Regions from separate parts of the Homo sapiens genome. Here regions 1 and 3 are each linked to region 2. The links are contacts of gene promoters, found by promoter capture Hi-C in blood cells and fetal thymus (Javierre and others, 2016). All regions are on one chromosome and are shown on one strand. The core of a region is centred on a gene start or on the middle of the fragment in contact, and the rest is flanking DNA. Distances in the headings are between cores, read along the strand shown.

Region 1 (3,492 bases), core at 469-2,968, 240 kb before region 2:
GAGCTCCCACCTTTCACCTTCAGACAGGTGATAACCCCCAAGTATACAAAGTCTGTTTCAAGTTTGAAATATTTGAACGGCAAGGTCGTTTCAAACATTTACGGGTAAGAGTGTAAAGTAGCCACAGGCAGGGTCAGCCCATGTCCTGTTGGCTCAGATCCGTTTCTTGCCCTTTCCCTGCAGGGACTCACCCCTGCAGGCAACATTTCCCAGGCCCTTGGTCAGCTGGCTTCCGGCTGGGATTGGCCACTGGGAGCCACTGGCAGGAGGAATGGCAGGAAGAAGGACAAAAACAGGTTATTTCCCTTAGGCCTGCCTCAGGGAGTGTCTCTGGCAGGTACCTTGTCTCCTTTTGGCTCCAGCTCCTGCCCCTTGGTCCTAGCCTTTGAGTCTTGGAAATACCTCCTCCCTTTTACCCTCTATTTGAGAAGTGGTAACAGCAGCTTGCTCTTGATAATCTTTGTATTATCATTTCCTGTTTGGCTTTTCAGTTTTTCCATCACCCCTGTCACTAATTCCTTATATTAAATTCCCTCTATATCAGATTCTTAAAGGGATGGTTTCTCTGGATGTCTCTGTTTCTCTGGGTGGACCCTGATAGATACAGGTGCTTTAGGCAGTAGCTTTAAAAATTACAGGCGTGTAAATCCTTTGACCCAGCAATCCAGTTCTAGGAATTTAACCTGCAGATATATTTGTACACGTGTGAGATAACATAGGTACAAGATTATTTATTGCCTTGAGTGTCCATCAGCAAGCAAGAGACTTATCAGATAAATCCATGCCCAGATGGTTAATGAGGTTGTAAAGTTGTAGAAAGGAACGAGGAAGCTCTTTTCTTAGTTGACATGGAGAGATCTCCAAAATATCTTAAGTTACAAGAGCAGGCCGGGCGCGGCGGCTCTCACCTATAATCCTAGCACTTTGGGAGGCCGAGGCGGGTGGATCATTTGAGGTCAGGAATTCAAGACCAGCCTGGGCAGCATGGTGAAACTCCGTTTCTACTAAAAAAATACAAAAATTAGCCGGGAGTGGTGGTGCGTGCCTGTAATCTCAGCTACGCGGGAGGCTGAGGCAGGAGAATCGCTTGAGCCTGGGAGGTGCAGGTTGCGGTGAGTGAGATTGCGCCACTGCATTCCAGTCTGGGCAACAGAGTGAGACCCTGTCTCAAAAAAACAAAACAAAATTACAAGAGCAAAGTGTAGGAAAGTGTGCATTGCGTGCTCCCATTCTTGTGTTTTGAAAGAGGAGGTAATGGCTGATGCATGCAGATTCCCTGGAAGGTGAAAGGAGGAACCAATAACAATGGTTACCTGATTGGGGAAGATGATGGGAACTGAGTGGATGGGGAATATAGGTGGGAAGGAAACTTTTCACTATGCGCCTTTTTATTTTTTGAAATTCAAAAAAGTTTGAATAATCTGTCTTCACTTTTTCTAAAATTGGAAAGCAGTTTCATAGAAAAATAGTATGATGGTAAGAAAATACCCATTTTACACCTTTTTTGAGGGAATTTTTATAGATTAAAAAATACAGCTGGGCGCAATGGCTCACGCCTGTAATCCCAGCACTTTGGGAGGCCAAGGCGGGTAGATCATGAGGTCAGGAGTTCGAGACCAGTCTGGCCAATGTGGTGAAACCCCGTCTCTACTAAAAATACAAAAATTAGCCGGGCATAGTGATGCGCACCTGTAGTCCCAGCTGCTCGAGAGGCTGAGGCAGGAGAATTGCTTGAACCCTGGAGGCAGAGGTTGCAATGAGCCGAGATAGCGCCACTGCCTGGCGACAGAGTGAGACTCGGTCTCAAAACAAACAAACAAAATATTCTGGGAAGACCGCAACAAAAAGATAATGTGATATGCAATGTAAGGTTATAAAATGTTACCTATTTTTCATTCTGTAGTAAGTTAACTACTGTATTTTTGAGAGTTTAAAAAGTGGATGCTTTTAGATTATGCTTAGAGTATATTCTTTTGTAGTCATTTACTCAAATGTTGATGGTGTCTCTACCAAATACCAGGTTCTATGCATGGCACAAGAGCTATTAGTGCCTGTGTCATGCCGTTTTTGCATTGCTATAAAGAAGTACCTGAGCCTGGGTTATATATAAAGGAAAGAGGTTTCATGGACTCATGGTTGTGCAGGCTGTAGCTGTACAGGCATGGTGCCAGCATCTGCTCGGCTCCTGGGGAGGCCTCAGGGAGCTTTTTACTCATAATGGAAGGTGAAGCAGGATCAGGCACATCACATGGCTAGAGCAGGAGCAAGAGGGAAGAGATGCCACGCCCTTAAACGACCAGATCTCAGGAGTCCTCACTCACTATTGCAAGGGCAGCACTGAGCCATGAGGGATCTGCCTCCATGATCCTGTCGCCTCCCCTCCAAGTCCTGCCTCCAGCATTGGGGATTACAGTTCAACATGAGATTTGGGCGGGGCATATATCCAAACTGTATCAGTGCCTAACAGTGGTGAATACGGCAGATAAATTTCCCACGTTCATGGAGCTCATGTTTAGATGGAGAGACAGACAAAAGAGGTAAACAGCTATATATAAAATAATCATGTATTATGCTAGATGTGTTAAAGGAAATCAACAAGAGGTTGAGGAAGAGAAAGTGTGGGATGGGAGAGGTGTAGGGAAAGCCCGTGGCCAGGGAAGGCCTCTGAGGAAATGCCCTTCGAGGTGCAATCTATAGGGGTAGTGGACCAGACAGAAGGGAAGGCATGGAGCTGGCAAGAGCTGAGTATTCTAGAGAATTAAAAGCAGCTTTGTGTGGCTTGAACAGACAGTGAAGCGGGAGAGATAGACTGGGGCCATGTCAGGCTTTCAGTAGCTAAGGAATGCAGATTTTATTCTAAGTACATGAAGCCGCTGAAAGATTTTTAAACGGGGAAATCTCATTTGATTTACATTTCAATAATTTTAGCTAATATTTACTTGATGCTGTATGTCCTGTGTACTTTCTGCGTCTTAATTTATTGACTCTTCATCATATTGCTATTTTCAGATTGGAAAATGGAGGCATAGGGAAGCTAAGTAATTGGTCTGAAATTTCACAGCTAGCAGGTGATGGAGCTGTGATTGGAACCCAAGCCTTCCATTTCAGAATCCGTATTCTCAACCACTGCCCCCTGCTTTTTAAAGAAGCATATTCTTGACTCCTGAGTGGAGAGTGGTTTGGAGGAGAAGGGAGGACTTGGGAGAAGGGAGGTGTTGCAGTGGTTCAGGTGAGAGTTACGGGGCTTGGTGGGTTAGGGTGGTAGTGGGAAATATGGAGGGAAGGATATATATAAAACACATCTGTATAAAACATACAGAAAAGTACAAAGAATAATGAAACCAGCACTCTTGTTCCCACTACTCAGAATTGACATAATAGCTGTCAATGTTCTGTTGCATTTTTTAGGTCCGTTTTTTAAAAAATAAAGCATTACTGGTAAGTCTCTCCATCTCAGTATATTGTGGTGTTCTTCCAGTTGCTCAGGCCAAA
Region 2 (3,486 bases), core at 355-2,854:
AAAAAGAAAAAAAAAGAAATGATTTTCGGTGGAGTTAACTTACCTGACTTCTGGGTCAGCACCGTGCCGTAACAGGCAGAGCAGACTCTGGGCCTTGTGGTACTTGGCAGCCAGATGGATGGGGATGATAGACTCTGTCGGCTTTGGAGGGAAAACAAAACACATTACAAGTGGCCCTGTGTAGTTAAAAATACTGTTTGTGTTAGCTTGCCGTTTCAAAGGCAATACATTTATTTAGTGTCTCATTGGCTCACTCTTTTTCTGGTATGTGCATTGAAAGTTTCCTTTCTACTACCTGTTTTAAATGATCAAAATTCAGTGAATTCCATCCTATAAAATCTGTGTTTCACAGAAATGCACATTTACTGAGGCAACAGAAATAACACTCAAAAGCTTTGGAAATTTTTGAAAGTTGATTCTTCAGAAGAGCCTGTGGTGTGATATTAAGGGTACTTGCTATGAAGTCACTTATTCCTTAAATTAACCCACAGGGTGATGGACAAGTAGGTGCTGTGTCGTTGCCAAAGTCGTATTATCAGCAGTAAAACCTGAATCTTCAGGGTTTTCAAATATAACGCAGCATATGTTCTGTCTATGATTAGCAGAGCTGTTTGTGCCAGCTCTTAAAATACACACGTGTAAGTAGTGGTTTCACACCGTGGCTGCAAGATAAGACAGTAGGGTACAAGGGAGGGTGACTTCCTTTTTGAATTTAATTGTAAAAGTAATAATCATTGTATAAAAATTTAGAAAATGAAAATGTATATATTAAAAAGGGAAAAACTATTTTTTGTTTGTTTGTTTGAGATGGAGTCTTGCTCTGTCATCCAGGCTAGAGAGTGCAGTGGTACGATCTTGGCTCACTGCAACCTCTGCCTCCTGGGTTCAAGCAATTCTCCTGCCTCAGCCGTCCGAGTAGCTGAGATTACAGGCTCCTGCCACCAAGCCCGGCTAATTTTTGTATTTTTAGTAGAGACGGGGTTTTGCCCTGCTGGCCAGGCTGGTCTCGAACTCCTGACCTCAGGTGATCCACCCACCTCAGCCTTCCAAAGTGCTGGGATTACAGGCATGAGCTACTGCGTCTGGCCAAAAAAGGGAAAAACTAATTTGACCACATGGAGATCATCACTGTGGGTATGTTTGAGAGATGACATGAATGGTCTTCCAGTCACACAGGGTCTGGTGTTTTCTCATGTTGGTTTGTGTGTGACATGTGTAGGGGAGGCTTTGCAGGCTTTGGGGAGCACTGCAGTGTGTGTGGAGTGAGCTGGAGTCGTGTCTCATTCTCATAAGGGCCGTGAGCTTAGTGGGTTCACCAGCTTTAGATCATGCTTCTTTCTAAGCAGCCTGACTTTTTTCCAGAAGTGACTGAGCAGAAAAGAGGGTACCTGGGTCAGAAGTAATCTGTTGCTGGCGGAGTTGGGCAGAATGGTGATGGGCTGGTTGACAGGGTGATTTCTCAGGAGTACCTCGATCGTAGTGCAGTCTTCTCTCATGATGGCTTCATAGAGTTTCGAGTGAAGTGCTGCAGATGGGCCATCTTCCAGGGACTTGGCACTGTCAACCACCAGGTCTCTGCTTCCTTTCCTGGTTATATTCCCCATGAGAAAAACTTAAGACTTCAGGGGAAAATGTTGTTATGGAATTGGTCAGTTTCAGTCTCTTTGTGATGATTCTTTCAGTTCAGTTCTAGAACTGTTCTAGAATTTGTCGAGAATTGGATCTGTGAAGGCAATCCATCAGTTTGGAACCAAGCGTCCAGACTTTGTTCCTTGATCATAGAATGTCAAATGTCAGCAGTTTTTAGGGTTTTCTACTCTATCATAAAAACATATTCAAGCTATCATCTTACACCTTTATTTCTGATTTCTCTCCAGTTCAAGTGTAGCTGAAACAATGATCAAAGCTAAAACAGAGGAATTTATACATTAAAATACAAAGTTAAAATTATTACTTTTAAAGTAAGAAAACTTTTAACCTTAAGTTATTTTTTAGTTTTTATTATAATAGAATCTTCCCTCTCCCCATTATGGGTTCAGTTTTTCTCCGGCATAGGAATAGTTTGGGAGATGTTTTGGGTCTGTACTCTTTGCTTAAATAAAGCCATTTAGTGTGATCTATTAGTTCCCAACCCTGGCTAATACATATGAGTTATCTGGGAGCTTTTAAAAAATATCAAAGTTGGCTGGGTGCGGTCGCTCATGCCTGTAATCCCAGCACTTTGAGAGGCCAGGGCGGGCAGAACATGAGGTCAAGAGATCAAGACCATACTGGCCAACATGGTGAAACCCTGTCGCTACTAAAAATACAAAAAGTAGCTGGCTGTGGTGGCGTGCGCCTGTAGTCCCAGCTACTCAGGAGGTTGAGGCAGGAGAATTGTTTGAACCTGAGAGGTGGAGGTTACAGTGAGCCGAGATGGCACCACTGCACTCCAGCCTGGCGACACAGCAAGACTCTGTCTTAAAGAAAAAAATCAGTTTTTTCGTAGTGCGAGAAACATGCTCACCCGTCCAAACCCAAAGAGTGAACTTAGAGGCACAAAGAACAGTGAAAGTGAGACTTTTAATAGCCCTCTTGCAAGGTCACGTGTCTGGTAGGCAGGTACACCCAGGGCAGTTACAACAGGTGATTTATCTCCTAGCATGCAAGACCCTACCTCAGTTCCTCACTGGTCAAGGACTACAGGGTTACGATCTTCCCGGACGTCGCCTAAGTTGCATTATCCCCTTAGAAGGTTATACCCTGGTCCCTTTCCCGCTTAAGTTTGGATTTCCCAGTAATGAAACTTTCTTCCCTTTTATGGGCTGACTCCTCTACATCCTGTTCACTTATTGTGATCTTCCAGGTGGATGAGCCATGTGGTTTGTTACATTTGCAGGCTGGCTGCCGGTGCTTAGATTTATCATGCCTTGAAAAAGCCATTTAAAATGTTTTCTCACACATAGAAAATCACGTCTCTGGACTCGACAGGACAGTCGTTTCTTTTCTTTTCTTTTTTTTGAGACAGAGTCTCACTCTGTTTCCCAGGCTGGAGTGCAGTGATGCGATCTCGTCTCACTGCAACCTCTGCCTCCCAGGTTCAAGCAATTCTGCCTCAGCCTCCCGAGTAGCTGGGATTACAGGCATGCACCACCACACCTGGCTAATTTTTGTATTTTTAGTAGAGATGGGGTTTCACCATGTTGGCCAGCCTGGTCTTGAACTCCTGACCTCAGGCGATTTGCCCGCCTCAGCCTCCTAAAGTGCTGAGATTACAGGTGTGAGCCACCGTGCCCGGCCGAGGACAGTCATTTCTAAGAGCTTCTTGGGTAATGATGTGCAGTAAGGGTTGGGAAGCACTTGTGTACAAAGCATGCTCTACATTAATATTCTCCAAATTTAGAATAGCCTTGGGACTTTTAATAATACTGATGCTTGCGTTCACCCGCAGGAGTTCTGATGCAGCTGGCCTGGGGAATGGTTGAATGTTGAGGTTTTTTTTTTTTT
Region 3 (4,011 bases), core at 1,465-3,964, 180 kb after region 2:
CCTGGGCAACAGAACAAGACAGTGTCTCAAAAAAAATTGTGTGAATCTCTTTTTGGCAAAGCAATCTGACATGTTTCTTGTTTCAGAGACTCAGCTTATTTTCAACCTAAAAGCCAACTAACTCTCACAGGGGAATACTGTACACAGTGATTACTGCAGTGTGTTTGTGTGTTAAAGACTGCTTTGTCATGCAGACTACAGCTCCAGCCTCACCTCGCTGTAATTTACTGTGGATATTTTGCATTATGTAGGCAGCACCTTATACCCGACAGAAGAGTTGAGGGCGGGGGGTCGGTGGGGGGGTGGGGGGGTGGGGTCCAGTCCCAACTCAGGTGTGCTATAAACTGGCTGACCTCAGATGAACCTTATTATATTGCTGAGCCCAGGTTTTCTCAACTACAACCATAATAATAAGACTTTGCCTCTAAGTTTAACATGGGGAATAATGACCGTATGAAAATATAGACTCAGCCTGGGCAACATCGTGCGACACCCATCTCTGCTACAAATTTAAAAATTAGCCAGGTGCAGTGGCTCACGCCTGTAATCCCACTGCTTGGGGAGGTAGAGGCAAGAGGAATGCTTGAGGCAAGGAGTTTGAGACCAGCCTGGGTAACAGAGCGAGACCCCATCTCTATGAAAAAGTTAAAAAGTTAGTGAGGCGTGATAGCATGTGCCCGTAGTCCCAGCTACTTGGGAGGATAAGGCAGGAGGATCGCTGGAGCCCCAGAAGTTCAAGGCTGCAGTGAGCTATAATCGCACCACTGCACTCCAGCCTGGGTGACAGAGCAAGACTATGTTGCCTCTGCTGGTCTCGAGAGACCCTTGTAGTCTGCTGCCTACTCCATGTAGGATGTAGTTACATTGATAATCTTGTTTTACAGATGAGGAAACTGAGGCTTGAATGATTTACCCAAAGTTAGCAAATGGTAGAGCTGAGACTTGAAGCAAGCTGACTCTAGCATGTTCATCTTAACTCCCTGGAGACAAGGAGCTCAGAACCCAGTGGCCTGGGTGTCTCCAGGAGTGAGGAACGGGAAAAAAAACTGCAACCTGGCTAACTCTTCTGTCTCCAGTGGCAAGAAAGAGACAGAAACGGTTATTTCAAGATGTTGTGATTATTGTTATTGAGGCAGCATCTCACTCTGTCTCCCAGGCTGGAGTGCCGTGGCGCAATCTTGGCTCACCACAACCTCCACTTCCCAGGCTCAAGCGATCCTCCCATCTCAGCCTCCTGAGTAGCTGGGACTGCAGGCACATGCTACCACGTCCGGCTAATTTTTTTTGTAGAGACAGGGTTTCACCATGTTGCGCAGGCTGGTCTCAAACTCCTGAGCTCAAGTGATCTGCCTGTCTCGGCCTCCCAAAGTGCTGGGATTACAGGCGTGAACCACCGTGCCCAGCCAAGACATTATTCTTTTGTAAAGTAAACATAGTTGCTCTTAGCATATGGTTCTCAATTGATGGGCGTGTGTGTGTGTGTGTGTTCTCTCTGGAAAAGTTTTCTCTGGGAGAAAATTCTAGATTTCACTGTTTTACATTTCAAAGTTGCCAGTTTGTTAAAAAAATCAGGCTGAGAAGAAACATGTTAGGACAAAAATGTGAAAGACTGTCATTAAAGCAAGCAAGACCAAGGACGGAGTTTTACAGACTTTGCACAGAATTCTTGGATCAACCCATGGACGCGGTGGTTGATTTTAACAGGAGCTGCAGAGTCTAATCCCTTTCATCACAAATGCATCTGGGACCAGAGCCCGATTTCCTGCTGCCCTTGGGGGACTTTTTAACCATTTTTTTTCCCCAAGCTTAGAGTATACATCAAATCCCAGGTCCACACTGACCCCCACTCTGGGCTGGAAGGGCCTGACCTCTCCCAAGAGAGTGGGGGTGGAAGAGAAGCTGTGAAATACAAAGTCATTTGATGGATGTGACACTGGGCACAGGTTGACCATCAAGCCAGGGAGGAGGCCTTTATGCCCGAAAACCCCTGAGCCTGTTCCAGGGATGCAGTGAACCACTCCTGTACCCACCCAGGCTTGCCTAGGTGTGTTGTGTGCCAAGGAAGCTTCAGGGAAGAGAGAGGACAGAGAGAGGTTGGATGTCTAAGTGTTGTTCAGTAAAGTGAACAGAAAGCAAATGTTCCAGTCTGGGAAAGTAAAATCACATATAAGAGGAAAGCGGATTGTCATAGAAGGTCCGAGGCCCGGGCTAGGGAAGGGAAAAACCACACGCTCAAAGTCCTGGTCAAGGCGTGTCCACGTTAATGGGAGAGAAGCACCTTCCTCCACTGTGGGGCCAGGGCAGGGCCAGAGCACCAGCTGGGAGTGGATCCTACACTTTTTTTTTTTTAATTGTGGTAAAATATGCGTAACATAAAATTTGCCATTTTCGCTATTTTTGAGGGTACAATTCAGTGGCATTTATTACATCAAAAATATTGTGCAACCAGGCTGGGCATGGTGGCTCACGCCTATAACACCAGCACTTTGGGAGGCCAAGGCGGGCAGGAGGTCAGGAGTTCAAGACCAGCCTGGCCAACGTGGCAAAACCCCATCTCTACTAAAAATACAAAAATTAGCTGGACATGGTGGTGTGCACCTATAATCCCAGCTACTCAGGAGGCTGAGGCAGGAGAATTTCTTGAACCCGGGAAGTGGAGGTTGCGGTGAGCCGAGATTGCACCACTGCACTCCAGTTGGGGCGACAGAGCGAGACTCCATCTCAAAAAAAAAAAAAAGAGAAAAACAAAATATTGTACAACCATCACCATCATCCATCTCCAGCACTTTTCCATCTTCCCAAACTGAAACTGTCCCCATTAACCCTCACTCTCCATCCCCCTTACCCCCAAGCTCTGATAACCAACGTTTTACTTTTTTTCTGTCTCTTATCAGTTTGACTATTCTAGGTACCTTATATAAGTGGACTCATGCTGTGTCTACCTTTTTTTCTTAACAAGAGTTTTGCTTGTTGCCCAAACCGGAGTGCAGTGGTGCGATCTCGGCTCACTGCAACCTCTGCCTCCCAGGTTCGAGCGAAGTCTCCTGCCTCAGCCTCCCGAGTAGCTGGGACTACAGGCGTCTGCCATCACGCCCAGCTTTTTGTATTTGTAGTAGAGATGGGGTTTCACCATGTTGGGCAGGCTGGTCTCAAACTCTTGACCTCGGGTGATTCACCCTCCTCAGCCTCCCAGAATGCTGGGATTACAGCCACTGCACCCGGCCTGATTGTTCAGTTTCTCAATTGGAACATGAGTAGGGCAAGTTCAAATTCTAACTTAGATGACATGCAGGCCAGTGCACATGGACTCATCCAGGTAAAATCTTGCCCTACCCAGAGCCCAAGGACAGACAGGCAAGCTTTCTGTCTCCAGTCTGCCGTCTCCCTTGATGTACAGCCTGTGGAAAGTTCTGCGCATCTGAGTTATTTCAAGGCCAGTTCTGTCTTGTGTAGCCCCCAAGTTCTTGTTTCTTACCCTTCTATACCATTTAACATTCAAGTTCCAAGTAAACAAAAACCCATAGAACAGCTACAGCATCAACTCACAGACTTTGTTTTTCAGTACCTTCTACATAGCTGGCACCTGGATACTTATTTTCCTGAGAGCTGAATTATGTATCTAAAAGGATGTCAGCGGTTGTTGTCCGTCATGTCCAGTTGTTTTCAGTGGGTTTTCACTTCATTTCTATTGAGAGAGGGTCTCACTGTCACCCAGGCTGGTGCGCAGTGGCACGACCATGGCTCACTGTAGCCTCAAACTCCTGGGCTCAAGGGATTCTCCCACCTCAGCCTCCCAAGTACCTGGTCCTACAGGCACGTGCCACCACGCCCAGCTAATATATATATGTATTTGGTACAGACAGGGTCTCACCGTGTTGCCCAGGCTGGTCTTGAACTCCTGGGGTCAAGTGACCTGTCCACCTTGACTTTCCCAAGTGCTGAGATCACAGGCACGAGCCACTGCCCCGGTGATTTTCACTTTAGACGGTCCACCGTATTGCCAGAAAATGG

Evidence for each region. The method cuts DNA at HindIII sites, captures the fragments that hold promoters and counts their contacts. A CHiCAGO score of 5 or more calls a contact.
Region 1: a contact is called between a fragment that was not itself captured here and the fragment with the promoter of ANKRD61 in region 2, in 2 of 17 cell types (megakaryocytes and erythroblasts). The highest score is 5.2, in megakaryocytes.
Region 3: a contact is called between a fragment that was not itself captured here and the fragment with the promoter of ANKRD61 in region 2, in 1 of 17 cell types (endothelial precursors). The highest score is 5.5, in endothelial precursors.

What each region holds. Positions count from the first base shown.
Region 1 is chr7:6,265,864-6,269,355 of GRCh38, reverse strand. All of the region lies in intron 1 of CYTH3 (cytohesin 3), which reads left to right. Among named protein-coding and RNA genes, the nearest start is that of CYTH3, 5.0 kb to the left of the region's middle. The HindIII fragment of the contact is 4,625 bases long and covers 1-3,492 here.
Region 2 is chr7:6,029,494-6,032,979 of GRCh38, reverse strand. ANKRD61 (ankyrin repeat domain 61) reads right to left here and starts at 1,604. Exons shown (of 3, transcript NM_001271700.2): 1 at 1,389-1,604; 2 at 44-141. The coding sequence starts at 1,604. The region is part of intron 11 of EIF2AK1 (eukaryotic translation initiation factor 2 alpha kinase 1); the gene reads left to right. The HindIII fragment of the contact is 4,913 bases long and covers 396-3,486 here.
Region 3 is chr7:5,849,377-5,853,387 of GRCh38, reverse strand. It overlaps the pseudogene ZNF815P. Among named protein-coding and RNA genes, the nearest start is that of OCM, 29 kb to the left of the region's middle. The HindIII fragment of the contact is 1,294 bases long and covers 2,068-3,361 here.